Linked DNA regions of Homo sapiens: regions 1, 2, 3, 4, 5 and 7 are each linked to region 6. The links are contacts of gene promoters, found by promoter capture Hi-C in blood cells and fetal thymus (Javierre and others, 2016). All regions are on one chromosome and are shown on one strand. Each heading gives the region's core, a stretch centred on a gene start or on the middle of the fragment in contact. The rest is flanking DNA. Distances are from core to core; before and after follow the strand shown.

Evidence for each region. Contacts are between HindIII fragments. The CHiCAGO score rates a contact against its expected background, and 5 or more counts as called.
Region 1: a contact is called between a fragment that was not itself captured here and the fragment with the promoter of SH2D4A in region 6, in 5 of 17 cell types (naive CD4 T cells, activated CD4 T cells, total B cells and 2 more). The highest score is 5.9, in naive CD4 T cells.
Region 2: a fragment that was not itself captured here is called in contact with the fragment with the promoter of SH2D4A in region 6 in 5 of 17 cell types (naive B cells, naive CD8 T cells, non-activated CD4 T cells and 2 more); the score reaches 5.8 in naive B cells.
Region 3: a fragment that was not itself captured here is called in contact with the fragment with the promoter of SH2D4A in region 6 in 4 of 17 cell types (total CD4 T cells, naive CD8 T cells, non-activated CD4 T cells and 1 more); the score reaches 7.5 in total CD4 T cells.
Region 4: a fragment that was not itself captured here is called in contact with the fragment with the promoter of SH2D4A in region 6 in 3 of 17 cell types (non-activated CD4 T cells, activated CD4 T cells and naive CD4 T cells); the score reaches 6.0 in non-activated CD4 T cells.
Region 5: a fragment that was not itself captured here is called in contact with the fragment with the promoter of SH2D4A in region 6 in 4 of 17 cell types (non-activated CD4 T cells, activated CD4 T cells, naive CD4 T cells and 1 more); the score reaches 6.8 in non-activated CD4 T cells.
Region 7: a contact is called between a fragment that was not itself captured here and the fragment with the promoter of SH2D4A in region 6, in 2 of 17 cell types (naive CD8 T cells and activated CD4 T cells). The highest score is 6.7, in naive CD8 T cells.

What each region holds. Positions count from the first base shown.
Region 1 is chr8:20,172,759-20,175,994 of GRCh38, reverse strand. SLC18A1 (solute carrier family 18 member A1) reads left to right here. Exons shown (of 16, transcript NM_003053.4): 5 at 1,551-1,634; 6 at 2,867-2,959. Among named protein-coding and RNA genes, the nearest start is that of SLC18A1, 8.8 kb to the left of the region's middle. The HindIII fragment of the contact is 4,634 bases long and covers 1-3,236 here.
Region 2 is chr8:20,146,663-20,150,003 of GRCh38, reverse strand. SLC18A1 (solute carrier family 18 member A1) reads left to right here. Exons shown (of 16, transcript NM_003053.4): 12 at 277-328; 13 at 1,934-1,997; 14 at 2,282-2,401; 15 at 2,613-2,746. Among named protein-coding and RNA genes, the nearest start is that of SLC18A1, 35 kb to the left of the region's middle. The HindIII fragment of the contact is 1,351 bases long and covers 1,395-2,745 here.
Region 3 is chr8:20,103,538-20,106,752 of GRCh38, reverse strand. The region is part of intron 1 of LOC105379311 (a long non-coding RNA gene); the gene reads right to left. Among named protein-coding and RNA genes, the nearest start is that of SLC18A1, 78 kb to the left of the region's middle. RefSeq lists an enhancer at 2,226-2,727. The HindIII fragment of the contact is 2,877 bases long and covers 245-3,121 here.
Region 4 is chr8:19,844,821-19,847,760 of GRCh38, reverse strand. It overlaps INTS10 (integrator complex subunit 10), which reads right to left. Exons shown (of 17, transcript NM_018142.4): 16 at 1,964-2,057. Among named protein-coding and RNA genes, the nearest start is that of INTS10, 29 kb to the right of the region's middle. The HindIII fragment of the contact is 2,306 bases long and covers 259-2,564 here.
Region 5 is chr8:19,877,568-19,880,564 of GRCh38, reverse strand. No RefSeq gene overlaps it. Among named protein-coding and RNA genes, the nearest start is that of LPL, 60 kb to the left of the region's middle. The HindIII fragment of the contact is 3,506 bases long and covers 1-2,997 here.
Region 6 is chr8:19,311,995-19,315,213 of GRCh38, reverse strand. SH2D4A (SH2 domain containing 4A) reads right to left here and starts at 1,521. Exons shown (of 10, transcript NM_022071.4): 1 at 1,391-1,521. The HindIII fragment of the contact is 8,347 bases long and covers 1-3,219 here.
Region 7 is chr8:20,127,627-20,130,616 of GRCh38, reverse strand. LOC105379312 (a long non-coding RNA gene) reads right to left here. Exons shown (of 3, transcript XR_949563.2): 2 at 698-2,415. Among named protein-coding and RNA genes, the nearest start is that of SLC18A1, 54 kb to the left of the region's middle. The HindIII fragment of the contact is 848 bases long and covers 1,285-2,132 here.

The DNA of each region.
Region 1 (3,236 bases), core at 224-2,723, 860 kb before region 6:
TTTAAAAACAAGGAAGTTCTGGGCAGACCAAGATGAGTGGGTCACTCTATTCTCAAAGGACATTGGGAGAGTAGACAGAAAAGACTGGAAATAACAAAGTCTGAGAAAAGATGCTGGTGGCCAGGAAAGAAGAGACCAAGAATGTGCATCTTTGGGAGACAAGGAGAAGTTCGGTGTGATCATGTCTGCCGGGAAGTAATGGGAGAAGATTAAAAACACAACCAAAGACATCTGTAATGAATGGGCAAAGGGATTACAATTCTTCTGATTCAGACACTTCGAGGAGATTATTCTTACCCTAGGAGACATTTTTCTGGAATTGGAGGTGAGACATGTCTGGACTTAACTACCCTGACCACCAGCACCCTCTGATTTAGTTTTGTGTTGCGGGAAGTCAGGGACCCTGAATGGAAGGACCTGCTGAAGCCATGACAGAAGAACATAAATCATGAAGATTTCATGGACATTTATTAGTTCCCCAAATTAATACTTTTATAATTTCTCACACTTGTCTTTACTGCAATCTCTGAACATAAAATTGTGAAGATTTCATGGACATTTATCACTTCCCCAATTATCAATACTCTTATAATTTCCTATGCCTGTCTTTACTTTAATCTCTTAATCCCATGGTCTTCGTAAACTGAGGATGTATGTCGACTCAGGACCCTGTGAGGATTGCGTTAACTGCACAAATTGTTCATAAAGCGTGTGTGTTTGAACAATATGAGATCTCAGAACCTTGAAAAAAGAATAGGATAATGGAGATGTTCAGGGAGCAAGGGGAGATAACCATTAGGTCTGACTGTCTGGGAGCCTGGCAGGACAGAGCCATATTTCTCTTATTGTTTTGGATGACATATTCCTGTTGGATCTCAGTTTCCTGGGTGTCCATCTTCAACACACTGCCTCTCTTCACGGACAATAACTAGATGTTATTTTTATTTTGCATTTGCTACAGAGTCTAGCAGAGCTGCGCATTCAGTATAATTTAATACCTGCTGATTTTGTCTGGTTAAAAGATCGTTCAATATAAGATATAAAAAAGGATCTGATTGTATCACAAGATATTATTTTCTACCCAATTCCTATAATCCTCGAAGCACCTACTTACTGTCACTGTACTCCAGATGATCCTGTGGGACCCAGCAATGGTAAAGACCAGATCTGGATTTTGCACATGGACGATCCAGGAGTATGATCTAAGAACCAGTTTCCAGCCTAGGACACTGAGCTTCATGGACATCCCTCATTTCAGTGGACAGAATGTTGGGTTCTTGGCAAGAGATGTACAGACTCAGCCTTCCATCTGCTGTGTGGTGACTCGGTTTATACTTCTGTGGTTTCTCAGTTTTCTTGCCATTTAAATAGCAAAACTGAGGAGTGGGAGATTGAAAAGACAACTCAAAAAACAGGGAACAGTCATCATGCTTTATTAAAAACATATGCATCAAGACTCATATCTGCAGTATCACGGGCATGTTCTCTGGCGGCTGGGGAAGCAAAGGCAATTTGCTAACTGCAGTTATCTTGCTATTCTCTCTGCCCAGTGTTTGCTTTTTCTGGGACCTATACTCTACTCTTTGTGGCCCGAACCCTTCAAGGCATTGGATCTTCATTTTCATCTGTTGCAGGTAACACTGGCAACTCATCATGCACACACACATGCAGGCATGCACACACACACATCTCTTACTACCTCAGATCCTATATTTACATGGAGAAATTAAGGAAAATGTCACCTGGATAGGTAGAAATTGTGATTCAGAAATAAGGGAATTGGGCTGGGCACAGTGGCTCACACCTGTAACCCCTGCACTTTGGGAAGCCAAGGCAGGAGGATAGCTTGATTCTAGGAGTCTGAGACCAACCCGGGCAGCCTGGGCAACATAGTGAGAGCCCTATTTCTATTAAAAAAAAGAGAGAATAAGTTAGCCAGGCATGGTGGTGTGCACCTGTGGTCCCAGCTACTTGGGAGGCTAAAGTGGGAGGATGGCTTGAGCTTGGGTGGTCAAGGCTGCAGTGAGCCATGATTGTGCCTCTGCACTTCAGCCTGGGTGACAGAGCTAGACCCTAACTCAAAAAAAAAAAAAAAAAAAGAAAGGAATTACAGAGTTTCTAACAGGGTCCATAGATCTCTGAGCCTGACATAACTTCCTCTGCTAATATTCAGATGCAGCTAGCTCAGGTCAGAGCAAGCCTCCAGTGAAGCTATGAAGAAGGGCAGGCTTTCATTTAGTGCCACTCTATGGTCCTTTTTCTGTCCCCCTCTTAGTACTTTATAGGAATAATCATGTTAGTACTACTGGTAACACCAGCACAGTTTTCAAAGTACTGGTGAATATAATATCTAATGCAATCTTATGAAGTTGGCATTTTATGCCATTTTACCCATAGCTATGAAGGCCAGAGGGTCCAGCTGCCGTACAGCACTAGCCCACACTTTCTTCCAGGTCTGCAGTGCTTTCCTGCTCTTCCCTGGGCACCCCTGTTAAATAGAATGGTCTCTGTGTGCCTAGATTTTCCTTTCCCTGATCTGCTCTGTAACCCCTCATTTTGGGAAATGTGCTAGGAAATGATAAAATGTTATGAAACATGGTATAATCAGACAATGGATTTTCTGTGTTATCCTTCCAGAGGGCTTGCACTATCAACAATATTCTGAACAGGAGTGGACAATGTGGGGGCTTGGGGGACTAGGGAGGGTAGTACTTGAAAAATACTACGGGTTAAGTTTTGTAAAACCCCTCAAACTGAAACTCTAGCTAAGATTGTCACTGAAGAGATAACAGGGTGGGACCAAGGGCTCTGAGAGGCGGATAGAAGCCCCCCAGGGGGCCAGCTGCATCTGTAACTCTCTGCGCAGGTCTTGGAATGCTGGCCAGTGTCTACACTGATGACCATGAGAGAGGACGAGCCATGGGAACTGCTCTGGGGGGCCTGGCCTTGGGGTTGCTGGGTAAGTGGCACCAGCTGGAGCTCTGGGTTCGGGAGGGTGGGACTCTAGGAAGCAGGTGTTCCCGAGGTGTAGAAGACGAGTATTTTCCTTCCCTTGTTGGCCTCATCCTATTTCAACTCCTTTAGAAATATCACTGAGAAAAGGTTAAATTTCCTTCTCCTTAAGAAGCTGGGAAACACATAAACGTCGGAGAAAGGTCCGGAAGCCCAGCCTGTTGGAGGAAGTGAGCCTCCCCGATTTAGAGGCCACTGCTTCGCCTCGGTTCCCATGCACACAG
Region 2 (3,341 bases), core at 821-3,320, 830 kb before region 6:
CTGAGTCAGCTGATTCCTCCTGTAAGGGAAGGAAGAGTGTGTCCCACGGCACCTCCTCTGCCTTTCTATAGAAAAAGGGATGGAGCCAGGGGAGACAAGGAAAGGGCAGGGAGAGAGCTCATTTGGGTACAAACTGGTCATGTAGGGATGCTGTCCTCAGGTCCTAAGGGGTTGCTGGGATTAGGGCTGGTGGGACAGGTCAGCATGGCGGTGATGGGGTACAGGTGGAGGGGAGCTCTCCCCTAGTGGTGTTTGATGATGGCTTTTTTCTTCCAGGTGGCTGTGTTCCCTAATCGGGATGCTGGTAGTAGGTACCAGCTTGCTCTGTGTAAGTATAAGAAGACCTGGGGGAGGGGAAGGAGAGAGAGAGCGAGAGACAGACAGACAGAGAGAGAGAGAGAGAGAGAGAGAGAGGGAGAGAGAGAGAGAGAAAGACACAGACATTTAAAGACTAATTTCCTTTAAGATGAGCAGAGATGGCTTGGCAAGGACTGTCAGAAAGACTGTTTCTGAATAGGCAGGAATTTAGCACGGGGGAAGAGGCCACCAGCTGCAGTGGCTTTCCTTTGAGGGGAAGTGGGAAAGGAGAGGAAGAGGGCTGTAGGGCAGCTGGAGCCGGAGGTCTGAGGCTGTACATGTGGGCATATGAAGTGATACATGTTGGTATCCATTTCTGGGGATGGCAAAATGGTGCGTTTTATGACTTCATTTACTCATCCCACCCTGACAGAGCCTCATAAATCCCCAGGGAACCATCATCTATGTCCCAGTCTCTGGCACCAGAGGCTTGATAGAAGAAGAAAGAAAGAAGGACTTTTCCATTTCCAAGAATCCCCCTCAAGTTCTCAAAGCCTTCATTTCCTCCTCTCCCCAGTGGGGATGAGAAACACACAAACCTCCTAGGCCTGAGGGAGAGAAGAACAGGGCTACAAGGCACTGTAAACTGTGCTCAAGACCAGCTGGAGGTCCTGAGCAGGAGCATGGGATCCGGGTTCCATGGCAGGTTTTGCCACTTTCTATGCATGTGACTTTGAGCAGGTTACTTCATCTCCGTGTGCTCAGCATCCTCATCTATGTAGAGAGGGTTCTGATGGTGTCCACAGGGTTGTCAAGGTAATCCAAATAAACCACAGTGTCTGGCACATGGTGAGCCCATAGTGAATCTCAGCCAATACTATTGATAATTTATAAACATTTCTTGAGGCATGAACCCTAAAAATTGTTATCAGCCAGCAGCATCTAAACGGTATGCTAAACCCTTAAGGGGTGAGTGTCCTGGGGTAGCAGGTTTGAATGGCAGGTACCCAGAGAGGGAGGTAAGGAACCTGAAAAAGAGGGAAGAAGGGGTTTTTGTTGGGGGATTGGGAGGGCAATGGGAATGAGTCTCACAAGCTTCCTGACAGGGGACCCAAGCCACACCACCTGCCCCCTCTAGCTTACAGCTAACTGGTTGTTGGGGCCTCTTCTCTATCTTCTTTTTCCAACAGCTACCAAGTTAGAAGTCTAAATGAAACCTTTCAGTGATGTCCATAATGGAAAACAGAGGCAACTTTATTCCATGAAGAATGAGACCAGGAGTGTATGTTTAGGTGAAGAGGGGTAGAGGAAGGGGAGAAAGTATCCATGGAACAGAGGAAGACCCTCGTTAGAGCATAATGGAGCCAAGTCTGAGGTCCAAACTTGATCTTGCCACTCATTAGATCTGTAACTCTGGATAGAGCAATAAATAAACACAACAGCGCTGGTCAAGTTTTCATATCCTTAAAATGGAGGTATAGATTCTTTTCCATGAGAAAGTCTGAGAGTGCAGGAGGATGATGTATGTGGCCAATAGTGCACTCTGAATAAATGCATTTCATGTGAAAACTCTTTGAACCTTGCTCCCACCTGACCCATCTGGAGTCCTGATGACTCTTCCTCCTTCCCCATGCAGGTTCCTCTGGCTCACAATATTTTTGGTCTCATTGGCCCCAATGCAGGGCTTGGCCTTGCCATAGGTAAGAAGTGCCCTCAAAGAAAACAATAAGCCCCTGCATGTTGGCTTTGGGTCTGATGCCTTTCCTCCCCCTTTTCTCATCAGAGGAGGTAGGTGCAGAGGCAGAAGGATCAGGAGGGCAGCTGGCAGGGTTGTGGAGAGATGAGCTCGTAATTCCCACCTGGAACAGGTGTTAGTCCGAGGCAGAAGACAGCAGACAAAGCAAATGGACTAAATGGAGGAGGAGAGGCGGGGTGGTACTAACTGTGGGTGGGGCTGACTGTGTCCTGTTTGCTCTGGCCACAGGCATGGTGGATTCTTCTATGATGCCCATCATGGGGCACCTGGTGGATCTACGCCACACCTCGGTGTATGGGAGTGTCTACGCCATCGCTGATGTGGCTTTTTGCATGGGCTTTGCTATAGGTATGTTGGCAGGACCTGGTGCCCCACTTTCCCCTGTCTACTCTTTACCAGCTGGAAGTGCAGCCAGGAAGCTATCCTCCTAGGGTTCTGGAGATCTTTGACGCTGAGACATCCTCTGGGTCACCCACTGCCCCTAGCATAGTGTCCTACGTGGAGGATGCTCCATATGGAGGCTCCATAGACACTTATGACTTTGATGTATCCCTCCCAGGTCCATCCACCGGTGGTGCCATTGTAAAGGCCATCGGTTTTCCCTGGCTCATGGTCATCACTGGGGTCATCAACATCGTCTATGCTCCACTCTGCTACTACCTGCGGAGCCCCCCGGCAAAGGAAGAGAAGCTTGTAAGGAGCACCGACTGTTAAAAGAGAAATTCACTTCTGTTTCTTTCCATCATCTCTCTCATTCCCTTTCATCCTGGGCTGTTATTTCCTCCCTCTATTGCTCTGTTGATACTCTCTCTGCTTTGCCATGTTTCCCAATCCCCTTTCATCTTCATATTTCTTTTGTGCACTTCCTTAATTTCCCTTCTCTAAGTAACCACTTCCCTCTTTCTGGGGCTATCAGGAAGGGTCTTCAGTAGAGAAGGGAAATGGGGGCAGAGGACCATCAAAGACATCCTGTAGTTACTGTTCTTAGCTTGCTAGTTACTAGCAAGATGTGAGTTACCAAGTTAACTCCCTCATAAGTGGGCAGAATTCCATTGGCACATCCGTTCATCCACTCATTCACTCTAGTGCAACATTATCCTTACCAGGTCACTTTTTTTTTTTTTTTTTGATGGAGTTTCACTCTTGTTGCCCAGGGTGGAGTGTAATAGTGTGATCTCGGCTCACCACAACCTCTGCCTCCCGGGTTCAAGAGATTCTCCTGCCTTGGCATCCCAAGTAGCTGGGATTACAGGCATGTACCACCATGTCTGGCTAATTTTTTGTATTT
Region 3 (3,215 bases), core at 434-2,933, 790 kb before region 6:
GAAAACCAAGGAGAAATGACAACAAAGCACAATATGTGATTCTGGATTGGATCCTGGACAAGAAAAAAGTGACATTAGTAGATTCTATAACTGTTATTTACACCTGTGTTAACTTCATTGTGACCATTGTACTGTGGTTATATAAAATGTTAACATTTGGGGAGTTGGTGAAAGTACATTAGAATTCTTTGTGACATTTTTGCAATTTTTATGGAAGTCTGAAATTATTTCAAAATGAAAAGCTTGAAAAAGTTAAAAAAAATTTAAAAACCTCACACATACATACTCATGAGATTTCCAGGGTTCCAGAAATAACTGGGAGTTGGGTGGAAGAAGGTGAGAAGGTCTTCAGTGAGGTATGGGAAAATGAAGAGTTACCAAAGGGAGAAGCTAGTATCTATTATTTTTGGGTACTAAGTTAAATATAGCATTTTTCATTCACATCTCCTTTATGTGGCTATTTTGAGGTTAAGTAGAATGGTGAATATAAAATGCTTAGAGCAGTCCTTGGCCCACAGTACGTGCCTAATAAATTCTAGCCACTGTTTTGTCATCTCCATGGTTGCCATCCTGGTTGTAATAAGCTCTTGAGGCCTAGGGGTGCTCTGGTTACACACATATTCCACTTGGAAATGTTCACATCTGTACTTACTTTCCCTCATGTACAGACTCGGCTTGACCCAGATTTGGTTTGACTGTGTCCCCACCCAAATCTTAATGAATTGTGACTTTTCTCATACAGCCTTGCTAGTGTCCAAACAGTATGGACAGAGCCACTGTTCACCCCACCCCACCCCCTTCTCCCTCTGTGCAGCCTTGGCTCCCCACTAGGGAAATGCCAGCCTCATGAGTCCCCGTCTAATTGTGCAACACCGTTTCCACTGTCCCTCCCTCCCCACATCAGCCCTCGCCTACCTTCGGTTCCTGCCTTTTTGTCTGGGGCTGGCTTGAAGCCAGTTCAGTGCATCAGATGGCGCCTACTCAGCAGAGATGAGGGTGCCAGAAGAGCCCTGAACACTGCCCACCGTCGCCCCCAAAATAACCTCCCACACACTCCTGTTTGCTGATCTTTGAAATTCTTTAGCAGAAGATAAAGCCTTTGTCCAGGAAACAGAGAGATGTGGGGGAGGAGGCCATGGCTAAAAGAATAATGAATTTAGAGGACTTGGATTTTAGTCTTAGCACACACTTTGGCTGTTTATCACTTGCCTTTGTGAGACTCATTTAACTCTCCCAGGGTCAGGTTTGCTTGCCTAAAGGGGAGGACAGTAAAACTTGCTCTGGATGTCCCAGAGCTTTGATGGTTGAATGACTTAACACACATGAACTGCTGTGTGCATGGGAGGTGGCCTTACTGTCATGAGAGCTGATAATTGAGTGTACTCATTCCTGGGGGAGGAATTACACTGAGCTTTTAAGACTGATTAAAATCAATCAATCCAATGGGATGGAGAAGTGGATGCTGGCTACTGTACCTAGGGTTATAGTTGAAACATAAGTATGAAAATTTAAAACGACTGAAATGTTTTTAGATCATTAAACAAGACGTGTGTATTTCATAGGTGCCACTTCCAAAAAGTGCTTTGTGGTTGATCCCTTCCTCCTGCATCCCATGAAACCCAGATGAGAAACCAAGAAGATAAGATAAAAGCAATTTTTCCTCAGGTCCCAGCTTCTTGAATCTCTTGTTCGTGTTTGTGGGATGCCAGGTAATTTTCAGGCCTCAATCCCTGCAATAAGATGCTCAGAAAGGAAGCAACATGTATCAGTCAGGGACCAGCCAGGAGATAAAAACCATACAGATATTTGAATGTGGAGAGTTCACTATAAAGAATTATTCATTGGAAAAAGGTATTGAAGTAGTGGGGAATTGGTCAGTAAGGAGGGGAGAAAATCCCAAATAATGTAGGATTTGCAGCTATAGAGAGCAGTTGCTATCCCTAAGGCTGAGACCCAGACCTCTTTGAGAGCCCAGCCATGGCTCAGTGCTCAGCCACCAAGTTGCAGAGGTGCCATGGTGGCAGAACTTGCTGTTAATCTTCCTTCTGAGGTGCCAGGGAGAACTGTCCACAGGTAGGTGATAGGTCTCAGGACTCACTGCAAAGATTCCTGAGGAGGTGCTGAGGTCCTGCAGGAGCTGGGTGCAGATGTGGTCACTGACTGCTGGGCTCAGATACTGAATAGACTGTGTATGGCAAGAGTCCAGAGGGGAGAGTGCTCTGGAACCTGGAGGAGAGAAACCCCTTCTGGTGGCAGTGTTCTTCCAACATCTTCTGCTAACAAGGGTCCACATTGTGCCAGCTAGCAAAGGGGAAATACAGGGCCAGCTCCGTTGACCCAGAACAATGAAGGGTGAATTTGGAGCAGAGAGGCAATAAATTGATAACTGACACAGATCATGGCATTTTACAGGGAACATTGGGCTCTAGGCCCAGCATGGGGACATATGGCCTCAGACAGGTCTCATTCTCTGAGCCTCAACTCTCATGGCTACAAAATGGGATCTTATATACTTATCTTTCAAGGCCGGGATCAAATAAGACAGAGGGTGGAAATTGTCATGAATAACAGGAGTCACAGCTTCAATATGTATAATGACACCTATTTCACTGACAATTTTAAAGTAATTTAACAATATGAGTTAATCAAAACAACATTTATTGACTCATTTCTCACTCTTGGGAGGCGTCAATGAGAGAATATGCTCAGTGGGTTTGCCCATATTAAGTGCAAAAGTAAATGTTAGTTGTAATCAACTCATTGTTAAGTTACTTTCTCTATAACAAAATAGTGATGCATTTATTTTTCCTTTACTATGTAGTCACTCACTTTGTTTATTGAGTGCCTACCATTTGCATACATGAAGCCGAGTGTTGCGTTAGAGGCCCAGGAGCCATGATCACTTTGAGGAGTGGGGAGATAGAATGCTTTCAGGGATGTGACTCCTTGGGAAGAAATGCTGTTTATTTCTCTCAAGAGCAGAAAAGCCGCCCATGTTCTCTTGAATTATGGCTACTCTAAAGTCAGCCCCATGTGGTTTCTCTCCTGTTCCCACCCTCCCTCGTTCCCGCTGTCCCTCATTTAGTTGCTTATGAATTCTGAGCATTTACACAAAGAAGCTTTCATTTTTGAAGAAAGCTTTGCAGGCTGAATTCCTCAGAACATGTTCTGAATGGAGGGACTGAGGTTTTCCTATGTGTTTGTTTGCATGTGAA
Region 4 (2,940 bases), core at 162-2,661, 530 kb before region 6:
TGTCCACTTGGACTTATGTCACTCTTCAGCTCAGTAAAAACTGGTAGAAGAAGAAAGGTTCAGTACAATGAAGTCTGAGGTTCAACTGTTGATTTTTTGACAATCCATCTCTCACACCTGCACTAACAGTTAGGCATTATCTAGGTAAAGTGATAATCATCTGCAGGTTTAATCCTATGTACACAGACTTCGGTTCCACTATGGCTGTCTCTATATTAACTCGTATAGTGACTGCTGATGGGAATTAACTAAAAAGCTTGATTCAGGGTGTATTTGTATATCCAGTTTCAAAGTCTAGAAAACAAATCACAATACAAAAGGGGTTACCTGGGCTTCCGTATCCAAAGGTAATCTTTATCCCCAAACACTGTTAAGAATATTTTGAACAACATAGTTATTCTTCCCAAAGTTTCGATTCACGATCTTAGAAAAGTAAATGGGGATTGGAAGATGCCAGTCCTTGTCCATCCTGCTTAAGCAAACCAATGCAGAAAGGTCTCGTGTATTTTTAAAAAGAGCACTGTTCTTTTATTTTAAAAGTTTATAATTTAATAACACTTATAAGATGAAGGAGAAAAAACCACTTAATCTTTCCATTCTTGAGAATGGAGTCCACAAGACCCTATTCTTGCTAGACACAAAAAGAAATGTTTGCTACCAGCAAACTACTGAGGTTACAGAAATCTAAAATGAACATTTCTTACTTCTTTCCCTAGGCACTTCTAAGACTATCAAGATAGAACAAGATGTGGATTTTTGCTTTCAACCACTGAAAACTAGTTTATTCCACAACTGAGGGAAAAAGAAAAATGTTTTTAGTTTTAGCAGTACTTTCTTCTCATTCAGGATTCAGTCTCTTGCAGAAACTCTAACACTGACTTACAGACACACTGAATGTGCAGGAAGCAAAGGAGGAAGTATGAAAATAAAACTACACGTGGCATTTACAGCAGAGAGGATATATTACCCAAACTACAATGAGGATTGAAGGAGAGAAGCAAGATTTATGAGCTATTTAAAAATCATAAATGGTCACTAATTTGGCATTTTCATCTGGGCCAACCCGGAATTTTAGTAACATCTTGTGAGTTCAGGGGAGCATGGTGGAGACCAACCACTCCCACCATCATTTCTTGGGACAGGTGTGTTCTTAGAGGCACTATACCTGGCTATTAATACTTCGTTGTTATGTAAGTCATGAGGACTGCATAGGAGGGCTTCATAGGTAGTTTATAAATAAAAAGTCTGTAGTTTTTCCTAAAGAATTTTTCTAACCCAGCACAATTTTAATTAAGCACAGCTGTTTTGTTTGTTTGTTTTTTTTTTTGAGATGGAGTTTCACTCTTGTTGCCCAGGCTGGAGTGTAATGGCGCGACCTCGGCTCACTGCAACCTCCACCTCCTGGGTTCAAGCGGTTCTCCTGCCTCAGCCTCCCAAGTAGCTGGGATTACAGGTGCCCACTATCATGCCCACATAATTTTTTTTTTTTTTTTGTATTTTTAGTAGAGACGGGGTTTCACCATGTTGGCCAGGCTGGTCCTGAATTCCTGGCCTTAGGTGATCTGTCCTCCTTGGCCTCCCAAAGTGTTGAGATTACAGGCGTGAGCCACCATGCCTGGCCACACAACTGTTCTTAATTAAAGGCACTCTGTGACTAATCAGAAACTTATAGACTCACCCTATAAATTTTTGAAAGTAAAAGATATCATGAATGAGACTTTTGTCTAGTGAAAAAGTTGCAAATGTGACAAAAATACCCCAATTTAAGCAAAGTGTTTTAAGAAATGTAGTTAAGGAAATGCAAGTTTTTCAAAAGGTACCCAGAATCAAACTATCATAACAGAGACCAGGTTTAAAGTCCTTTGTATTAAATTTTTGATAGGTATAGACATTTACAAATACTTCATACAAAGACACAAAAGGTGAGCACTCAGCATGGAAGAGCAAAAGAGAACATGCTTACTTGATCAGCATTCCTTGATTGGGTAGTAATTCCAGATGAATTTTCCCACCTTCCTGAGTTCTCAAGTAGGCAAATTCCTCCAGCATATCAATATCTGCAGGCCAGATTCAGGTTAACCACATGTAAAAAAAGGTGCTAGTTTTCTCTGATGAGGAAATGGGGTCTCGGCAGTTGAGTAACTTGCCCATTGCCATCCCACTAAAAAAGGTGCCAGTTCTCTCTGATAAGGAAATGGGGTCTTGGCAGTTGAGTAACTTGCCCATTGCTACCCCACTAACTGCAGACTCCATATTTGAACCCAGATCTGTCTGATGCCAAAACCTGATTCTTATACCCACTAAACTCCCTCGCACAGATAACTCTTGGCATGAGATGTGCCAGGCTAAAGAGCATGAGGACAACATGTTTTCCATATCGATAATAATTAATACTACATGGTCACAAGAGCAAAATTTTTTTGTTTTCTTAATAAGAAATGAAAGAGGAGGTGAAAGTAGGGAGGATTCTTTGGTGTTACAGAACATAAAATTCATAAAAATCAAGTGATTACTTCTTCATAACTGGGGTGCAAGGGTTTATAGATGCATCAGAGGAGGAAGCTTCTGTGAGTCACCCAAATTTTATGCAATATGTCGATGACATTCATGTATGCATTTTTCTAGTGAAAAATTATGTAACTTTCATTAGATTCTCAAAAGATATCTGTCCCAAACCATGGTTAAAAACTATTACTTTGGCCTGGTATGGTAGTGCACACCTGTGGTCCTAGCTACTCAGAAGGCTGAGGTAGGAGGGTCTCTTGAGCCCAGGAGTTTAAGACTGCAGTGAGCTATGATCACACCACTACACTCCAGCCTGGGTGACACAGCAAGACCCCAACTCTAAAAAAAAACAAAATAAAAATAAAAACTATTGCTCTGAGCACCTGAACAAGAATATCATTTATATTCCTTGCAATTCAGAAATAATGTAATAAG
Region 5 (2,997 bases), core at 281-2,780, 570 kb before region 6:
ATCCCTAGTGAGGGGTAACAGTGCTGAGAGCCAGAGGCCAGGCCTCTTGATTTCCCGAGCAAGACTTTCCAGGTCACTGTGTTGTTCCTTGTGATAGACGGGTCTGGAAAATACTGAAAGAGAGAGGACCCTAGAACTGAAGAGAGAGGTGGAATAAAAATATGAAGAGCCTCAAAAGAGGAGAAAAGCAACTGAGAGAAAAAGTGACAAGTGGCAGGAGTAAAAAAGTCTGGCTGCATGGGTGGGGTCAGTAGGAAGTCCTCTAATGATTGGAATCAAGGATATTGAAAGATCCTGACCCCAAACTTTCTTCCAGTTGATATTACAAGTCTGGAACCATTAAAAAATGGACTCTGTTGAATCTCCTGACACCTTCCCACAGCCTCCATTTACTCCTAACTTCCCATTGGCAATGTCTCTTCCTCGTTATGAATGGCTCTCTTATGGTGAGGTTCTTTTCAACTGAACATTCCTGTCTTAGTATTGGCTGCTGTAACCCAATAGCATAACTTGATGGCTTACACAACAAGCATCTATTTATCACAGTTCTGGAGTCTAAGATCAAGATCAAGATGCCAGCAGATTCGGTGTCTGATGAGGGTCCGCTTCATGGCTTGTAGGTGACCAGCTTCTCTCTGTATTCTCATGTGGCAGAAAGAGGATGAGTGAGCTCTCTGGGGGTTCCTTTTATAACGGTGCTGATCCCATTCATGAGGGCTACACCCTCATGACCTAAGCACCTTTCAAAGGCCCCACCTCCTAATATCATACCTTGAGGGGGTTAGCATTTCAGCATTTAAATTCTATGGGGACACAAACATTCAGGTCATCGCAACTACTGAGAAATTTAATACCTGTCTTTATCCTCTTGGCAAATACATGTAAAAGATGCTTATTTGGGAAAGACAGAAGCATCTTTGGCATGTTGGCAAGGGTAGGGGTGGAGGAGAGAAGCTGCAGAGCTGAGATGAGAAACAGGGAAGAACCTTGAAGGCAGCAGGACATTTTCACTAAAGAGCGAACTGCAATGCATTTGCCTCAGTGCCAGGAACCCCAGAGAAGAAAAGATGATACTCAAGAAGTGTCTGCTTAGCAGAAGAATTAGAGGCAAAGCCGTGTGCTCCCTGTGTTGGTTCCTGCTCTGCTCTTCATGTGAGCATTCCAGATCCTGAGCCTTGAGGCCCTAGAATATTCACCACGAAACTTACAGTCGAAGCTCAAATGGTGCCAACACTGTAAATATAGCGTTCACATTCTCCTTCACTGTGAAGACAAATGAGGGTAATGAATCTAGGCGTTCTCTTCTCTCAGAATATTTGGCATTTGAAAGCACTTCACATTTCTATCATTTACTTGTGTGTGTAGACACCTACTTCCAAAACAAAAACACAGTTGGCCCTTGAACAACATGCAGGTTAGGGGTACCAATCCCCCACCTAGTCAAAAATCCATGTATAACTTTTGACTCCCCCAAAACTTAAATACTAACAGCCTACTGTTGACCAGAAGCCTTACCAATAACATGTTCTGTATGTTACACGTATTATATACTGTATTCTTCCAGTAAGTGAGCTAGAGAAAAGAAAACGTTATTAAGAAAATCTTAAGGAAGAGAAAAAGTATTCACTATTTGTTAAGTGAAAGTGGATCATCATAAAGGCCTTCACCATCACTGGAGTAGGCTGAGGAGGAGGAGGAAGAGGAGGGGTTGATCTTGCTGTCTCAGGTGTGGCAAAAGTGGAAGAAAATTCACCTATAGGTGGAACCACATGGTTCAAACCAGTGTGGCTCTAGGGTTAACTGTAATGATGACATATTAAAGCCATCACAAATTTTAAAGTAAGTCATCCGTTATTGTGCTTTATTAATAAACAAGAATCTCCTCTTCAATTGTCCTTCCCTCCTTCCATCTCTCTTTACCTCTTTTTCTTTCTTCTTTCCTTCTTTTCTTCTTCCTACCTTTCTTTCTTCCTTTTTTTTTGAGATGGAGTCTCACTCTGTCACCCGGGCTGGAGTGCGGTGGCCCGATCTTGGCTCACTGTAAGCTCCACCACCCAGGTTCACGCCATTCTCCTGCCTCAGCCTCCCAAGTAGCTTGGACTACAGGAGCCAGCCACCACACCTGGCTAATTTTTTGTATTTTTAGTAGAGATGGGGTTTCACTGTGTTAGCCAGGATGGTCTCGATCTCCTGACCTCGTGATCCACCCGCCTGGGCCTCCCAGAGTGCTGGGATTACAGGCATAAGCCACAGCGCCCAGCCTACCTTCCTTTCTTTGTTTCATCCCTCCTTCTCCCCTCCCTTCCTTTCATTCTTTCTTCCTTTGATTTAGTTGGAGTTCAGAGAAAATCCTAGTCTTGTCAAAATTAACTTTGATTCTTGATAGGATAATAAGTCTCCTCTAGAAAATAAAAGTTTACTAAGCAGAAACAACTTTGAAAGCAACTACCCATTTTTCAATGCAATCTACTTTCTGTTTTAGAGAAGTTCTTTTTCAAAATTAAGTGTCCTGCTAACTAAGCTCTCAGGCTATTAGTTGAAGTGAATGAAATTCCAAAGATTTTACTTTGGCTTTTGTGTGGTTTATGCTTTCTAAATTTCCTTCACAAAGAATAGCCTGTAAAATTGTCTAGAAAGTGATCCCTTTGGGGAAATATTTACTCTTGAGTATTTTTATTCTAAAAACAAGAGCTTGATGTTTAATGAACAGTTTTGCTTAAGTGGAACCATAGAAACTCTTACAGGGCTGTGTTTATGTTCTCTGAGATTCGTTGAATTTTCTAGAAGAAGGAGGTCTTAGAGAAAAATCAGGATTATGGTATGTGATCAGTGCTATGCCCTATATTTCCTATAAAGCCAGTGTGCATTGCATGCCATTATTTTCTCTAACTGAACCACTTAATGTGTATTTCTATGTAGGGCCATGCAAACCTGCCTCTTCTCAGGTTACGTACTTAATTTTCTCAATTTTAGAAGCCAGCAAAGTGGAAGGAATAG
Region 6 (3,219 bases), core at 272-2,771:
CAGTGAGCCGAGATCGCACCACTGCACCACAGCCTGGGTGACAGAAGGAGACCCTGTCTCAAAAATTAAAAACATTAGGTCGGTGCAAAAGTTATTGTGTTTTACATGGCCAAAAAAAAAGTAACTGCGGTTTTTTTTACGTAAAAACCGCAATTACTTTTGCACCGACCTAATAAAATAAAAAATAAATAAAAGTATTGTGGTATGGACAGTGTAACTATAACATTAACAATACAGTTTGAATTCTAATTCTTTTAAAACAGCCAGCTCTGTGGTCCAACTTTGTTTTCTTATTGAAACTTTATCTTATTCATCTACCAGCAAAAGGGCTGTTTTTGAGGATGAAACAAATTACCAGAGATGACAGCAGTTTGTAAATATATACTATTCTTCAGAAATTTGAGATTACTGTACACACAGATTTAGTATACATAGAGAATTCCACTCATATGCCAAATCTATGCCCCTGTATGCTTTCCACTTATTTATTCACTATTTTAAAATAATCGTACCCAAGTCGTTGTTTCTATTAAACCAGCAATCAAACGAAAGCCTTTGGAGCGATGAGGAGCATCTGTTTGAAAGGGGGAGGTGCCACGCTTGCTGCTTCTCTAAGCTCCCTGGGAAGGGAGAGACAACTCAGAAAACCTACAAACTGTAGCTCCTTCCGGTGCCCGCGTGACCCCCGAGTCCAGGAGCGGGCAGGGGCGCCGCTTGGCTGAGCGCACTGGGCACCCGGTCTGGGTCTGGGCCAGCCCCGCCGCTGCAGCCCGAGGGAGGCGGCGCTGCACTGGCCTCCGCGCGCTCCCAGACCCCACGTGGGGGCGCCCCTGGGTGCCGGTGCGCGGGGAACGTGCTGCGGGGGTGCTGCGCCAGCTGCCACCGTTTCCCGGGACTTCCCTCCTGGAAGATTTCCATGCGCAAGTCGAGGACGTGCTCCTGCTAGGAGTCTAGAAACTCTAGGCCAGCCCGGACCCTCCCGGGGCCTGCACTCCCCGCGGGTGGAAGCACGCGCCGCGTGTCCCTGCCGGATTCCAGAACTTCCCCGAAGGTCCTCAGCCCCGGCAGACCCTCTCCCTCGAAGTTCCCCCGCCACCCCCTGCAAGCCCCCAGGCCCCGGGGACCGCCGCTCACCTAGCCAGCGGCTCCAGACACCGGACACCGGACACCGGACACCGGACACCCGCCGCGGCCGCTCTCGCCGCCCAACCCCGCACCTGAGCCCGCCCCGGGCGCCGCGAAGGGGTGGAGGCGGGGGTGAGGCTTCCGCCCGCCCGCTCTGGCCCCTGCGCCTCCCATGCACCCATGCAACCTCCGAGGAAATTCCCTTCCCCCTACTCCCACCCCACGCACACTCTCCCCAAAGCCTCGCCCCACCCCCAGCACCTACCAGTGCTGGGCGCCCCTGGGCAGGGTGGCTCGATCACCCGCCACATCCACTTGGCCGCCAGAAGCCGTCGGGGAAGGGAGGGAGGGAAAGGCAGAGGCGTCCCAAGCGGCGCAGGCGGGCTGAGCAAATACTCCGGCCCGGACGCAAAACAGCTCTTGTAGCCGTCCCGCCCGCGCCGCCCCGCCGCGCCCACATGCCGGGGTGACTGGCGGGGCGCAATCGCGGCCCCACCCGGGCGCCTGGAGGCTCTCCAGGGCCACTCGTCGGCGAGGCTGCGTGGCCTGCGCATCTCGGGCCGCCTGGCCCGCGCGCTGTCCCCGAGCTGCGGTAGTCCGGGGTAGGCTTGTCCTCTCCTCTCTTAGTTCATGAGACAGGGATCTGCAGTCTGTGATCTCTTGGGGACTGCAGGACTTAGATTAAATCTGCAGATCTGGGCCTTTCCACGTTTCAGAGCTCGGGGTTCCTTGCTAGGTGTAGGGTAGGAGGGTGCGCAGGCCCCACTTGTTCACTCTGCTTGGGTGCTGCAGGCCAAGGCGACTCTGGAGCTTTTTTTTTTTTTCTTTTGTTGACATTAAGTAAATGATCAAACTCTTTGGCACTTGTCGGTACACGTGTGGCTTTGTAGGACAAGATGAAGGAAGGAAAAGGCTGGAAGGAAGGAGACCGCAGTCAACACAGACAGGTGGAGAAAATGAAAGAAAACTGGGGGAAAAGTTAAGATGCTGAAAGGAGTCTTGAGGATTGCAACAAGAACAGGTTGGCTTGGTGCCTGAAGACGTCAGGGAGGAGCTGGCAGTCCACAGTTAGAGGAAATCTTGGAGGAAAATTGAGCAGAAGCACAGTGGAAAGGCATTTCCACTGGAGGGCATTTTCCATCCTAGAGGAGCATGTGGAAGAAAACCGCCTGCTTTGGTGAACCCCAGATTTTGTGTATTGGGAGAGATGTAATAAACAGTAAACACCAGTAGTCCTCTCCACGGACTACCTGACCTCTTTAGGAGCCTGACCTGCTGGATTCAAACACAAAATGGCATTTCCCTGCCTCTCCAAACTGCAGAAGCTGTGCAGAGTTACATCAAGCCTCGGGGCAGGCGGCATTGTCAGGAAATAAGACCCAGCTATTTAGGAACAATTCCAGGAATCCCATCAGGGAGGAATTTCTGGTGTAAGGCTTAGTTCCTACTGCAGTTTAAATGATAGCATATGGGGTGCTTTAGGCTGGAGTGGGATTGGCCCCTGGAAAGCTGCTATGACGAGGTCAGAATGAATCCTAGCCCTGCATGGATGCATCAGTTGAACCATACAGGGTGGTTTATCAGTTAGGAAAAATCCCACAGGACACTGTGACAGCCTACCTTCCTCACACCCAGTCTCTCTCCAGGTCCTGGCAAGTCCTTCCTTATAACAGCTTTATCACTGTGCTACTAACCTCTGTACCTCACTTTCCTCCTCTAGATAAAGAGTGTCTGCCTCGGTAAGTTGTCAAGAGGGTTAAATGAGATGCTACATGCAAAGAGATTAGAAGAGCTCTTGGCATGTGGTGAGTGTTCAAACACATTCACTCAGATCAGTTCATATCACATTAAGGTACTGGAATTCCACATTCCTGCCATCTCACCCTAGGCTGTGGGTTCTGCCCACCATGCCACCTACCTTCCAAGTCATTCCCAGGGATCCTATCCTCCTGGTATTCACATCCTTGCATAGCTCCCTGCCACTTTGTAAAGGTTGGTATGCTTGACCAATAGAACCCGGCAGAAGTGATGATGGTCTGCCACTTCAGAGATTAGGTAAGGAAACACCTTGGTGCTTCTATCTTGAAATAATAT
Region 7 (2,990 bases), core at 459-2,958, 820 kb before region 6:
TAGAAGCAGATAGCTTTTGGGCCAGGGTCTATGAACTGTCTCCTAAGGCATCAAAACAAAAGGAAAAAAGGCCTGAAAGACTGGCATGGCTGTCACACAGGATGAATGGGGAGCAGGGAGGCCCATGTGGGACCCAGTGGTAATCCTGGCAGGCTTCCTCCCCTTTCAGAGCCCCAGCCATGGGTTCTCAGTGTCTGTCTGCTACAAGGCACCATCAGTTTTTGGGGTTGTAAGCTCTTGTCCATTCCCTTGGTTTCAGCCTCCTACTGTCCCTCACCAGCAAGCCACTCATTGTCCCTGTAGCTGCCCTGTGGCTCTTTCTGTCTTCCTGACAGCCTCACAGAGGGTGGCCCTGGGGCCACGGCTCAGCCCTGGTGGCCTCTGAGCTGTGTCTGTCAGGCAGACACACAGGTACCAGATCGACGGCAGAGCAGGCCAGTTAGTGCCTGGTCCTCCTGCCTGTATGGGACCCGGCCTGCGTTGAACTATGATCTTCAACACTCACAACCACAAGCCACCACCTCAGCCCAGCACCCACTTGTGGCCACAGCGAGCTCTAAAGACTGATTTCGGTGCGTGTGGCCTGTTCACATTCCGGCTGGAGCTATGAGTCCTGGAAAGTCCTCAGCCCACTTCAACTCACCCTGGATCCCAGCCCTGCTCACCCCTTGCCAAGGAATACCCAACCCTTGCTCACCAGGCCATCTGGTATATGCAGAAGAGAACCCAGGCTTCAGGGTCAGAAAACTGAGCTGCGATTTCTTGCTGCTCCACTTATTCTCTCTGTGACTTCAAGAGGGCATCACCCCTGGGCCTCGCTTTGCTACGTGTGTGCAGTAGAAGGTTTGGATGACACCTGTACCAGAGCCCTGGGTCCGAATGGAGTGATGTGTGTGAAGCCACGTTGCATACTCTAGAGTTCTGCGCAAATGGCATGTCCCAGGCTCTCAAGAACTTTGGGAAGATTGACTTCCTTCCCAGAACATCTTTGTGAATTGAGCTGGGACTTCTGGAGGCAGGATTGTAGCCCAGAGGCGTGATGGCTGCTGGGAAGGAGAACAGAGTGAAGAGAATATCGGCTTCTCGGTATCACTGGTGTTGATAGATCCAAGGTTTGCTTTAGGATGCCAGGACTGCAGGAGGTAAAGGGACATGTTCACTACAAACCCCTCAATTAGTCACAACAAGTCCCGCTTGCAGAGGGAAACGGCACAGCCTGACCCATCTGATTAGCATGTGTTGATATGGGCCAAGGTATGAGATTAACATTTTATCTGCAAAGCTTCTGTGACCTCCTGCTTGCAGTTGTGAAGTCAGGACTCAACTCACAGTGTCTTGCTCAAGGTCCACATAAACATATTATGCTCACATTTGGGCATGGCCCTGCTTGGCAGAGCTGAAGCTGCGTACGTGAGGCATATGTATGTATGATCCAGCTGCTGTCTGATGCTTGCAGAATTGGTAAAGAGGTTGCCGAGATAGAAGAGCCAGCATCTGTTCTCACCTGTCTAAAAGTCCACTTGAGATCAGATTGTAGCAAGTGAAATGTTTGGACAATGATTCGGATAGCTTTCTTTGTAGCCTGGGGCAAGTCACTTAACCTCTCTAGACATGTTTTTCCATTCCTCATAGAAGAACAGGAAATTCTACTTTCAAAGGGAATCATGGCCTCTTAGCTCTGGAAGAAAACTGAGCGGGGTATGTTAGGCCAACCTTCTTTGGTCCCAAACCTCCCTTCTACCACAGCCTGGAAAAAAGGGCCTATCCTATCACTTTTACTTACATACCTCCTCCCACAGGGACCTCACTACCTCTCCTGAAGCCCATTCTTATGTGAGAAAGCTCTGATAGTTAACAAGCTACTTCTCATTTTCAGAAGAAGGTTTGGTAGCCAGGTTGATCAGGGAATGTTCAGCACTGGTTTGGGGAGTCGAGACGCCCCTGAGCTGGCCTGCCTCTCAGCAGTCAGGGCCATACTACTGCCAAGGGGGGTGATACAGTAGCAGCAACCGCTGCTCTCACTGGTTCTGTTGTCTGCCTGGACCAGCTGCCCTCATCTCTCATCCTCCACACCCCAGCTTACACTGTTTCTGCAGACTGAAATGAGTTTCCCTTACACTAGACAGAAAGCTTGCTATCTTTCTTCAAGATCTAGCTTAAATGCGTCATCTTCCATGAAGTCTTCCTAGATTTATCCAGGCCACACAATTCCTCGCCTGCATCCCCAGAACACTGAGCTCTTGCCTCTGTTATAGCAGGAGAACATAACATAGCAGTTGTATTGTTACAAATCATCCCTCAGTACATTCTCTGCTCTTCCAGGCTAATTACTGGGTCTCATATCCATGCTGGCATCCTCAGTATCTGTTGCAGGCCACAGCATATAGTGTGAATTCAATATTTGTGCTGACCCATCTAGACATAGACATAAATAAAAGTATATACATACATATTTTACTTCCTCCCTTCCTTCCCTCCCTCCCTCTCTCCCTCCCTCCATCCCTCTTTTCCCTCCCTTCCTCCCTCCCCTCTCCTCCCCTCCCCTCCTCTCCCTTCCTCCCTCCCTCCCTTCCTTCTCTCTCTTTTCTCTTTTCTTTCTCTCTCTTTCTCATTTTATTTTTTTCCTGCTACAAGCTCTTGCATGTGGAAGACAGAGTGAAATGCCCTTGGAATAACTGTAGTTTGTAGGAGAAGGGTCGTTGTCTACTGGAGGTTCAGAATTTCTCATAAAACACTTTAAAATGATGTGTGTTGGATGCGTTTAAAAGTAGCACAGTTAGTGCATTTATACTAAGCATATCAATGTACTGAGTAAAAGCAAATTAGAAAATTTAATTTGCTAAAAAGAACATCTGGATATCTAAGTAAAAGAGGTAAGGCTGTTATTTGACTCTGACCTGCATTCTTACTTCCATCGTCCTGCCCCAGTCAATAAACTCTTTTGGCCGGGTGCGGTAGCTCACACCTGAAATCCCAACACTTTGGGAGGC